Regions from separate parts of the Homo sapiens genome. Here all the other regions are linked to region 2. Evidence: promoter capture Hi-C in 16 types of primary human blood cells and fetal thymus (Javierre and others, 2016). All regions are on one chromosome and are shown on one strand. Each heading gives the region's core, a stretch centred on a gene start or on the middle of the fragment in contact. The rest is flanking DNA. Distances are from core to core; before and after follow the strand shown. Region 1 holds the start of TSC22D4 (TSC22 domain family member 4). Region 2 holds the start of LAMTOR4 (late endosomal/lysosomal adaptor, MAPK and MTOR activator 4). Region 3 holds the start of SAP25 (Sin3A associated protein 25).

Region 1 (3,456 bases), core at 426-2,925, 330 kb after region 2:
GTGAAGGAGCGGGCCTGAGGTCCAGGAGAGGTGGGGGGTGGACGGAGCCAGGAGGTGGGGCCCTGAGACAGGCCTGACGGTGGGGTGGGGGCGCCCAGGCCGAGGCTGGCCAGCTCCAACCTGGAATCCAAAGATCTGCCCCCGGCGCCCCCTGAGGCCCCTCGAATTCCCTCCAGGAGTCCGCCGAAGCTGTGGGGCTCCAGGTCTCGCTCATAAACATCCACACACGTCCAGCGACCGCGGCGATAAGGCTCTCCCAGGCCGTGGGGCAGCTTCACCACCCGGAAACGGGAGGAAGGGGCCCCAGGTGGTGGGGAGCCATTCCGGGGGGTGCCCTTGCCCCCCGGATCGGGGCTGGGCTCCCCATTGGGCAGGCGGGGCGGGGGCCCGGTTGGGGGCTGTGGGGTAGGGGGATCCGAAGCCCCTGGGCTCCCAGGGCCCTCATAGTCCGTGGTGACGCTGGTGATTTGGAAACTACTCTTCTTCTTGCCCCCGCTCATGGTCCCTGGGGCTCAGGGCTGGGCCAAGGTTGGGGGTGGGTTGGGGCTCCTTGAAGGGGCTCAGGCACCCCTGGAACAAGGGGGCCACATGGCGGGGACATCCGAGCCCCTGGGGACGTCTGGGTCCGACATGGCAGGAGGGCCTGGCGGGAACCGGGGGTGCCTGCTGGGTGAGGGGAGAAGAGGAGAGGGGAGGTGGCGGGAGGGGGGAGCAGGGGCAGGTTTTTCCTGCTGCTGTTGCTGCTGAACTCCAGAGCTGAGTTTGCAAACTGGAAAAAGAGGGGGAGAGAGAGAGAGAGAGAGAGAGAGAGAGTGTGTGTGTGTGTGTGTGTGTGTGTGTGTGTGTGTGTGTGTGTGTGTGTGAAACCAGTGGGCAGGCCACCTCCGGGGCTTCCTCTCCGGGGAGCAGAGTGGGGGAAGGGGAAACCGTCAGAGACCCAGAGACAGGCAAGAGATGACAGAGACCAGGGCAGAGGGGACTGGATCCAAGAAGGCACTCAGAGTAGAAAGAGGCAGATGAGTCCCAGAGTTGGGCATTTCTCGCCTGGGATTCTGACTCAGGGGGCCCGTATTGTCCCAAGAGCTCGGACTCCAGGGCCTGGGAGAACCAGGCTGAAGCAGCTCCCCAGCCTGGCCCGGCCACTCAGAGAGACCTCTCCTGGGCCTCGAGCCCCCACCCTCACCCCAGCTCCCACATCTCTGGGGCAGGCCCTGCCCGGCTACCCCCCAGCGCCCCACCCAGCCCTGAACCCTACCTCTGGGGCCTCGGCCACTGATCTGAGCCTGAGGGTCCCGGCGCCTAAGAGGTCGGGCTGTCCGTTCCCTGGGGCCTCCTGGCCATGGGCAGTGGCGGGGCACGCAGGCGGCGATCAGAGGCTGTCCCGTCCTCTCCGGGGGCCGCGGCTCATCCTGCCAGGCATCTCCGAGGAAAGTTTGCTCTCCGGAAAAGAAGAAACCCGCGCCTCCTCCGAGGAGCCTAGGAGCGGCCTCTGAAGCCCCAAGGGTCTGGAGACTGATGTGGGAGGGGGCGGCCGAGCCCCCCTCTGCTCCCGGTGGCAGCCAGCGAGTGGGTGTCCCGAGTCTCCTCCCGCGTGACCCTGCTGGGTCCGTGTCTCCGCTCCTCGGCTCCCCTGGGTCTCTGCCTCTCCGTCTTTCTCTTTCTGGGCTGTTGACAACCCCCACACCAGGAAGTCCTGCCTCCTCGGGCCTGCTGACTGCTCCTCTCCTCCTCCTCCTCCTCCTTCCCCTCTTCCTCCCCTTCCTCCTCCCTCCCTCCCTCCTGGGGCTTCCCGCCAGCTGGCCCGGGGCCAGGCCTGCCACAGCCGCTGCTGTTGCAGTTGCTGCAGCCACTGCTTAGGCTGCTGCTCCTGGGGGCCCCAAACAGACTCCCTTAACCCCACACCTGCCGGGCCCTAGCCCCACTCTTGCAGGGAGGGGCTGCAGGGGGCGGGGCTCGGGGAGAAAGGGGAGGAGCTTGCAGGGAGGCGAGGGATTCCCTTACTTGTAGTCAATTGCTGCCATTGGCCTAGAGACACACAGAAGAGACGGAAGGCACAGGCCGGGAGGTGTGCTGCATGCCCACCCAGAAGTTCCCAGTCCCTGCTGTGGGGCAGCTGTGGCTGTTACTGTCATTCTCCTTTGGTTTTCACAGCAACTGCATTATTCCCCCCATTCCTTATTTTTAAAAGTGGATTATTGCCGGATCCCGGTGGTGGCTCATGCCTGTAATCTCCGCACTTTGGGAGGTCGAGGAAGGAGGATCGCTTGAGACCAGTTTGGACAATATAATAGCAAGACCCCATCTCTACAAAAAATAAAAAAAAATAGCTGGGCATGGTGATGTGCACCTATAATTCCAGCTACTCAAAGGTGGGAGGATCGCTTGAGCCCAGGAGTTCGTGACCAGCCTGGGCAATATAACGAGATCCCCATCTCTACAAAAAATTTAAAAAATTAGCACTTTGGGAGGCCGAGGCGGGCGGATCACGAGGTCAAGAGATTAAGACCATCCTGGCCAACATGGTGAAACCAAGTCTCTACTTAAAATACAAAAATTAGCCAGGTGTGGTGGCGGGCACCTGTAGTCCCAGCTACTCGGGAGGCTGAGGCAGGAGAATCACTTCAACCTGGGAGGCGGAGGTTGCAGTGAGTCGAGATCACGCCACTGCACTCCAGCCTGGTGACAGAGTGAGACTCCATCTTAAAAAAAAAAAAAAACTGAGTGTGGTGATGTATACCTGTAGTCCCAGCTACTCAGGAGGCTGTGAGGCAGGAGGATCTCTTGAGCCCAGGAGGTTGAGGATGCAGTGAGCCAAGATTGTGCCACTGCACTCCAGCCTGGGCAACAGAGTGAGACCATGTCTCAAAAAAAAAAAAAAAGTGGATTATTATGAAAATTTTCAAACATGCCATGCAGACATGGGGAGACCATGCAAACTCCACACAGATGGTGGTCCCAGCCCAAAATCAATTTTTAGAAAATCATCAATGTTATAATGAAATGACATTCAATGAAATGACATTGTGTGGGGGCCAGCTGTAGTTTGCTGGACTATTTGAAATCAGATCCTAGATGTTATACTATTCCCCTTTCCCCCAACCTGCCCCCGCCTTTTTTTTTAGAGACAGGGTCTCTCTCTCTCTCTGTTGCCCAGGATGGAGTGCAGTGGTGCGATCATAGCTCACCACAGCCTGGAACTCCTGGGCTCAAGCCATGCTCCTGCCTCAGCCTCCCAAGTAGCTGGGACCACAGACACACACTACTACGCCTGGCTAAATTTCTTTAAAAAAAAATTTTTTTTTTTGGTAGAGATGGGGATCTTGCAATGTTGCCCAGGGTGGTCTTGAACTCCCGGCCTCAAGTGATCCTCCTGCTTCTGCCTCCCTAGTAGCTGGGACCACAGGTGTATACCACCATACCTGGCTAATTTTTTAGTTTTTGTAGAGACAGGTTATT
Region 2 (3,802 bases), core at 953-3,452:
TCTTTCTACCAAAAGCAGATAAAGAATATACCAAAAAGAAACTACAGCCCAATCTCATTTATCATAATAGATTTTAAAAATTCTAAATAAAGCAGTAAAACAAATGGGTAGTATAATTTGTTCCAGCAGATTTTATTCCAGAAACACAAAGATGGTTAAATATCAAGAATACTGCCACCATAATTTATTACATCAAAATCTTTTTTTTTTCTTTTGAGACGGAGTTTCATTCTTGTTGCCCAGGTTGGAGTGCAATGGCACAATCTCAGCTCATTGCAACCTTCGCCTCCTGGATTCAAGGATTCTCCTGCCTCAGCCTCCCCAGTAGCTGGGATTACAGGCATGCACCACCACACCCACCTAGTTTTTTTTTTTTTTGTTTGTTTGTTTTGTATTTTTAGTAGTGATGAGGTTTCACCATGTTGGCCAGGCAGGTCTCGAACTCCTGACTTCAGGTGATCCACCCGCCTTGGTCTCCCAAAGTGCTGGGATTACAGGTGTGAGCTACCACGCCCAGCCTTGAAATTGCTGTTTCTAACAAGTCTTAAAAGACACCCAGACTTTAACAATTGTTATTATATTCAGATTTTTTTGTTGCTTTTTGAGACAATCTTGCTCTTTTACCCAGTCTTGAGTGCAGTAGCATGATCATGGCTCACTGCAGCCTCAACCTCCTGGGCTCAAGCGATTCTCCCACCTCAGCCTCCCGGGTAGCTGGGACTACATGTGCAGTATCATGCCTGGTTAATTTTTAAATTTTTAGAGATGGGGTCTTGCTATGTTGCCCAGGCTTCTAGAATCATTCTTCATATTATTTCACTAACACAGCCTCCACCACATTAATATGGCAACAGGTTTAGAAATTATTTAAAACAAAAATTTCTAATGTTTACATATATTGTGTGATGTGTGTGTGTGTGTGTGTGTGTGTGTGTGTGTGTATCATTCCAAGGTACTGTTTCTAATTTTTTCCTGTAGGGAATGAATATTCAGTATTGCAGCTGCATTGGCTAGCTGGGGATTCTATTTACCACCACATTGTCCCGGACTGAATCTGGGGACAAAAAAACCACTTCGGGAACAAATTCTTGTCTTCAACAAAGAGCTGTCTTGAGTAGGCACAAAAGTAGCATTTGAGGGCCGGACGCGGTGGCTCAAGCCTGTAATCCCAGCACTTTGGGAGGCCGAGGCGGGCGGATCACGAGGTCAGGAGTTTGAGACCAGCCTGGCCAATATGGTGAAACCCTATCTCTACTAAAAACACAAAAATAGCCGGGCGTGGTGGTGGGCGCCTGTAATCCCAGCTACTCGCGAGGCTGAGGCAGGAGAATTGCTTGAACACGGGAGGCGGAAGTTGTATTGAGCCAGAGATCGCGCCATTGCACTGCAACCTGGGCGACCGAGTGAGACTCCGACTCAAAAAAAAAAAAAAGTAGCATTTGAGTACCTTTTTTTTCCTTTTCTTTTCTTTTTTTTTTAGAGGAAGGGCACCCAGGCTGGAGTGCAGTGGCACCATAATAGCTCACTGCACTCTGCAACTGCTGAGCTCAAGAGATTCTCCTCCATCAGCCTCCCTAGTAGCTGGAATTACTGGCGTGAGGCACCATGCCCGGCTTATTTTCTTATTTTTTTGTAGAGGTGGTTGGAGCGGGGGGACTGGGGAGGGTCTCGCTATGTTGCTCAGGCTCGTCTCGAACTCTTGCCCTGAAATGATCCGTCCTCGGCCTCGCAAAGCGCTGAGATTACAGGCGTGAGCCACGGCGCCCAGCCTTGAATAGTTTTTCACATGCATTGCACGTTATTTCCTTTTATTCTCTAGTTTTTGGGTCCAGTCTTAAACCTGGGAAGGGATTCATTTGGGGGGGTCACACCAGCGGGCATCCTGGCTCAGGCGGAACTCTGGCTCCAGACAGTGCGCCCAGGACCAAACGGTCAACCCCGGCCTACTCCCGCCCCTCCCAGATCCTCCCCTCCTCGGACGCTCCCGCGTCTTCCTCTCGCTCAGGCACTGAGGGGCGGGGAGATGGGTGTTAAAGAGGGGATATCACCAATCAACGTGCGCCTCCGGGAAACAGCGCTTCGCACTGGCTGGTTGGGTCTGACGACGTGGCCACTGTCCAATCCTCATGCTAGAGGCGGGGCTAAAGGCCAGTGGCGCAAGCAGAAGGAGGAGCGCAGCGGCTGCAAGCACGTGACCGGGGCCTGAAGCCGGAAGCTACCTATCTGGTAGGGAGCTCCCCCAGCACCGAAGACTGCGATGGTGAGTGAGGACGCATGCGCGAGAGGACCCGCCGGGGGTTCAGCGTCTCTGCTCCCCAGTCTGTGTGGTTTCCCCCTGGTGGGCCTGCGCTCCACCCTCACCTCCTATCCGCTCGGGGAGGAAGAGGGGATGGAAATGGGAGGGATGGCGACGAGAATGCTGGGGAGGGGTCTGTGGGAGGGTGTTCTGGGGCTGCGGGTAGTCTGCAGGTCGGGCGGAGACGAAGGGAGGTGAAGAGAGGGTCTGGGGGCAGGGGCCAGTGGGGCAGCAAAGGCCCCTTGGGGTAGCAAAGGTGGGATGTGGAAGGCCAGGGGAGCCCGGGGGCGAGAGTGGGGGCAGATGGAGGCTCGGGAAGATCAGTATTGAGGACCATGTAGGGGGGAGGGGGCCGGGAAGGGACCTGGCTGGGGAATGAGAAAACCTGGGGCCATCGTCAACCCAGAGACTTGGGTTTGCAGGTGAAGGGTATCGGGCCGTCCATCCCTCTAGCATGCTTCTCACGACTTGCATCTTTACCCACTAGACTTCTGCGCTGACCCAGGGGCTGGAGCGAATCCCAGACCAGCTCGGCTACCTGGTACTGAGTGAAGGTGCAGTGCTGGCGGTGCGTTCTGGGAAAGGGAGGGGGTCCCTTAGTGCACACAGCCCGGTAACCCCTTCTAATATTGGCCCTTCTTTTCTCGGCTTTTATCTGGTTTCCTGCCTGGCATCTATTAGGTTGGTACAAAAGTATTTGCAGTTTTTGCAATTACTTTCAGTAATCAGTCTGTGGAATCTTAGTCTCCTAACGGCTGCGATTTATTTATTTATAGTTTTTGAGACTGAGTTTCGTTCTTGTTGCCCAAGCTGGAGTGCAGTGGTGCGACCTCGGCTCACTGCAACCTCCGCCTCCGGGGTTCAAGCGATTCTCCTGCCTCAGCCTCCCGAGTAGCTGGGATTATAGGCACGTGCCACCATGCTCTGCTAATTTTTTGTATTTTTAGTAGAAACGGGGTTTCACCGTGTTAGCCAGGCTGGTCTCAAACTCCTGACCTCAGGTGATCCACCTGCCTCAGCCTCCCAAAGTGCTGGGATTACAGGCGTGAGCCAACATGCCTGGCCTTTATTTGGTATTTCTTAAAAAGGCATTTGTATTTTGTTCCATAGTACTGTATGGTGTTAGGTCTCTAGATTACAGGCGTGAGCCACCACGTCTGGCCTTTATTTGGTATTTCTTAAAGAGGCATTTGTATTTTGTTCCATAGTACTGTATAGTGTTAAGTCTCCAGATGTTTTTGACTTAGGTAGAGACAAAGCTTAAGGTTAAGGGTTGAAAACAATACAGGTGGTAAAGACTATTGAGGGAATCCAGGATATTAAAAATTCAACATGTTATGACAAGGTAACTAACTTTCCGGGAGGTAGGAATTCAGCCCACCTTAAAGGAGAGTATTTACAGTGGGGGAGGACTTATTTGCAGGTGTGTGGCACTAACCTATCTGAACTGATGGTAAGTTTATGCTGAAAAGATTTGGGAAGGTTTGAGGGAAGAGAGGAGGATAT
Region 3 (3,696 bases), core at 24-2,523, 420 kb after region 2:
AGGACAGGGAGGGGAAAGAGCTCTCACCTGCTGGGGGGCCTTGGACAGGTACAGGGGAACACGCTGCCCCCGGGGCAGCAGAGGGTCCGAGAGGAAGACATCTTCACAGCACACCACCGGGAACCCTAGGAGGAAACACCACTAGGGTGGCGGGCTGCGGGCTCCCACCCCTGGGCACTGGTTCCCAGAGGAGTTGGGGCAGCCTTGCGCCCCCGGGGGACCAAGGGAGGTACCTGCATCTGGGGGCGCCTGCTGTCCATTCCAGTGCCCTGTGGCAGGGGCCACGGGCCTGAGACCCCTGCCCGAGGCTGCTTCATACAGCGGCCAGAATGAGGGGTGACACAGCGTCCGGCCTGAGAACGAGGCTCCTGAGCTACAGTTGGCCCCCTAGGGTGAGGAGGACAGAGCACTGGAGCCTCAGGCCACCGCACAGCTCCCTGAGCACCCCAGCCAGTCCCACAGGTTTGCCCCCAACTCACCCACACCGGCCGAGGTCCTGCTTTGGCTTCATACTTGGGGTCCCAGGGCGCTAGTGGAGTCATCCTCGAGGGGGCCACCTCCCAGGCCACCTGGGGGGAACGGGGATCTGGGGGGACGCTTGGGGATTATAACAGGCTCACAGTCAGTGAGAGGCTCTTAGGGGTAGTAGAGGCAGCAGGGCCTGTCCTACCTGGGGCTCCGGGGGGCTGCTCAGTGGCCGGGCCTGGCAGGTGGTGGGGCAGCAGCAGCTGCTCTCTCCAGATCCAGGAAGGGCTACGGGATGGGGGCTGTGGGCTGGAGGGGCAGGGACTGAGGCTGCAGCCACACCGCCCCCACGCACCCTCCCCTGGAGCCCAAGGGTGCCTGGTGCAAGGGAGACCGAGGGACCCAATCTCCAGCAGGGACAATGGAGAAGCCTCCGTAGAGCGCGTGGTGAAGGCATGGAGGCCCCCAGTCGCTGTCCCCCCACGGCTCCGTCCGAGCCCCTCACCTGTCCCATGGGGGTGTCCCCAGCTCCCTGGGGGCGTCCGCTCCGGCGCTCCAGGGCTCGCCCTGGTCCTTGCCCGCCGGAAGGCCTGGTCCCTCGGGCGCCTCCTCCGGGCCCGCGCCCCACCGCGGCGGCGACCAGGGCAACATTCCGCGTTCCCGAGCGCAGGACGGTACCGCCGTGTCCCCGCCGCCCGGCCCGGCCCTCTCAGCCTCCCTCCGCGGCGCGGCGCGAACGTGCCCTCCTGGCGAACCCACCCCAGAGGCCTCGCGGCGACGCTGGCGCCCTGTGCGTCTCCCGGCCACGTGGCGCGTGCCCCCGCCGGGCTCCCGCGGGCGCCCCCTGGCGACTGGGCGGTGAATTCCGGAAACAGAGGCCCCCCCAACAACCCCGCGACGCACGTGCTCTCAGACACAGTTACACCTGAGGGCCACCCAGAGGGCTTCTGGCTTCTGTTTATTGCGGCTGACACGACACCTGCGACACCCGCGGTCCTTCCACCCAGACCCTCGACCCCAGAGGCAGCCAGGCCGGCAGGCCAAGGGTGCCCAGGCCCAGGCCACCCTCACCACGTGCTTCTCTGAGAGCGCGGAGCCCAGGCGCGTCTTCTGCTCCCGGGGTCCCGGGCGGGGTGGGCCCTGTGCCCCCACCTTCACCCCTAAGGCCGGTCCAGCAGGGCGTGGACGACAGCAGCGATGTAGGGGAGGCCCCTTCCCGGGGCCCCCTCCTCTTCCAGGATGTGGTGGGGCTGGCACAGTGACTCCTGGGGGAAGGGGCCGGGTTAGCTTCCCCACGGTGCCCCCTGCGGCTTCCGGCCTGTGGCAGGGGGTCGGGGGCAGACCCGAGCATCACCGTGCGCTCGGGGCTCGGCGACAAATGAGACGCAAGAAAGCTGTCAGCGATAACAGAAGGGAGGTGACACGGGGGGTTGGCGGACGCTCCGGGAGCATGAGAGGCCGGCATCTCAGGAGGGAGATGCTGGTGGGCACAGAGCCATGGCCACAGCCACCAACACGCGGAGCAGACGCGCGCGCGCGCGCACACACACACACACAGGCAGGGCGGCCACGGTCTGTACAGTTTATACACAGAGATAGGGACCCGGCCTGGGCCCCGAACCCCTACAAATATAGATCCTCTCTACAAAATAGAGATAATTTAGCCCCCCCATAGCAGCTGTTGGGGGGGGAAGGGGAGGGCACAGGAGGAAGGGGGAGACTCCAGCTCCTGCCACCCCTCACGGGGTACAGAGGGCAGGGGCAGGGCCGGCGGGGACATGAAGGCACCGTCAGCACTGAGAGGTGGGGACTCGTGGGGCTACTGGAGGGAGGCCAGAGGCTGGGGGCCCAGGGTCTGGGGGCACCAGAGTGGGGCCTCTGAGGTCAGTGTCTGTGAAGGGGGTGCACTAGTGTCTTTGGTTGGGGCTGAAGGCACCGCAGGTGGGGTCGGGTGGAGCAGGGACCTTATAAATAGAGAGGAAGGGAAAGGGGTGAGGGAGGGCCGATTTTGGGGCCTAGGAACCCAGGAGCCGAGTGTAGGTGACATAGAGCAGCAGCATGAGGACCACGTAGAAGACGACGAAGCCGCCCAGACCAGAGGGGGGCCAGAGGGGCGGTAGGGCCTTGCCCCCCACCCGCTTCACGGCCTCCAGCGCGGTCCGCAGCCCCCGGGCAGTGCCCTGGAGGAGATCCGAGGGCGAGCACAGGTCAGCCTGGGGGAGAGGAGAGCAGGTGGACAAGGACAAGGGACAGACGTCAGCAGCAGCAGCAGGACAGTCCCTCCCACCCCTGCCCTCACGTGCTGGGGCCAGAACCACGCCCACATGCTGACGTGCTGGGCAGGGGGAGTGCAGTGCAGGAGGAGTGCAGGGCAGGGCATGTGCAGGACAGGTGACATGCAGGACAAGATGGGGCCTGCAGGGCAGGGGATGTGTAGGACAGGTGACATGCAGGGCAGGGGGCATGCAGGGCAGGGGGCATGCTGGGCAGGGCAGGGGCAGCCTGTGCCTTCATCTGAGAGCAGACATCCGCTGCAAATGGAAGCCCACCATCCATGCCACATGCTCGGCTGAGTCCGGCATGCCACCACTCTTTAGAAAGCAGCCCCCATACCTCAGGCACCCCCATTTTTCGACAGGCTTCTAGAAAACTCTCCACATTCTTCCGAGCCTTGAGGGCACTGAGTTTTGGCTGGGGTGGGTGAAAGAAGAAAATGTGGTAAGGGAGAGGCCACAGGCGCCCCGGCCCATCCCCCACCTCTTCCCCAGCCCCAACTGACCACAGCAGGGGAGGGCACATGGATGAAGGGCACGGAGCGCGGCCGTAGCTGGTTGGCCAGCTGGCACAGGATGACCCCACTGGCCAGAGCCTCGGCCAGGTCCTCAGGCAGGGGCCGCTGCAGCCGGGACTCAAGGACCTGGCAGTGTAGACCACATAGAGCAGGGGTCAGGGAAGGAGAGGCGTCTGGGAGGCAGGGAGAGTGGGGGGCTCAGGGCTAGCAGGGAACTTGTGCCTGTCCCTTCCTGTCCTCAGGGGAGGTGCCAGAGTGGGCACAGAGGATGTGGAGGGAGGCTGGTCCCAAGGACAGCAACACAAGGAGGTGCCCGGCCCAGGCCCCTGCCCACGCAGCTCCCGCCTCTGCTCACCTGGCGCAGCTGAGTCATTAAGTCCTTCTCATCTGGAACCTGGGGGTACCGCCGAGGTCTCAGGACAGAGTCTGGTGAGGAAGGG

The links. The method cuts DNA at HindIII sites, captures the fragments that hold promoters and counts their contacts. A CHiCAGO score of 5 or more calls a contact.
Region 1: a contact is called between the fragment with the promoter of TSC22D4 here and the fragment with the promoter of LAMTOR4 in region 2, in 10 of 17 cell types (total B cells, fetal thymus, activated CD4 T cells and 7 more). The highest score is 11.3, in total B cells.
Region 3: a contact is called between the fragment with the promoter of SAP25 here and the fragment with the promoter of LAMTOR4 in region 2, in 10 of 17 cell types (activated CD4 T cells, monocytes, naive CD8 T cells and 7 more). The highest score is 14.7, in activated CD4 T cells.

The regions. Positions count from the first base shown.
Region 1 is chr7:100,477,539-100,480,994 of GRCh38, forward strand. TSC22D4 (TSC22 domain family member 4) reads right to left here and starts at 1,676. Exons shown (of 5, transcript NM_030935.5): 1 at 1,256-1,676; 2 at 1-769. The coding sequence starts at 500. It overlaps TSC22D4-C7ORF61 (TSC22D4-C7orf61 readthrough), which reads right to left and starts at 1,676. Exons shown (of 6, transcript NM_001395846.1): 1 at 1,256-1,676; 2 at 1-769. The coding sequence starts at 500. RefSeq lists enhancers at 1,312-1,381, 2,082-2,191 and a silencer at 1,832-1,991. The HindIII fragment of the contact is 34,188 bases long and covers 1-3,456 here.
Region 2 is chr7:100,146,716-100,150,517 of GRCh38, forward strand. It overlaps LAMTOR4 (late endosomal/lysosomal adaptor, MAPK and MTOR activator 4), which reads left to right and starts at 2,203. Exons shown (of 4, transcript NM_001008395.4): 1 at 2,203-2,260; 2 at 2,784-2,864. The coding sequence starts at 2,258. RefSeq lists enhancers at 1,206-1,818, 1,843-1,902, 2,173-2,282, 2,431-3,043 and silencers at 2,583-2,672, 2,683-2,772. The HindIII fragment of the contact is 7,868 bases long and covers 1-3,553 here.
Region 3 is chr7:100,572,627-100,576,322 of GRCh38, forward strand. It overlaps SAP25 (Sin3A associated protein 25), which reads right to left and starts at 1,274. Exons shown (of 6, transcript NM_001348680.2): 1 at 971-1,274; 2 at 671-774; 3 at 480-586; 4 at 234-387; 5 at 28-125. The coding sequence starts at 1,116. It overlaps LRCH4 (leucine rich repeats and calponin homology domain containing 4), which reads right to left. Exons shown (of 18, transcript NM_002319.5): 15 at 3,612-3,696; 16 at 3,245-3,382; 17 at 3,079-3,156; 18 at 1,385-2,678. The coding sequence ends at 2,481. RefSeq lists enhancers at 2,138-2,692, 2,693-3,246. The HindIII fragment of the contact is 23,848 bases long and covers 1-3,696 here.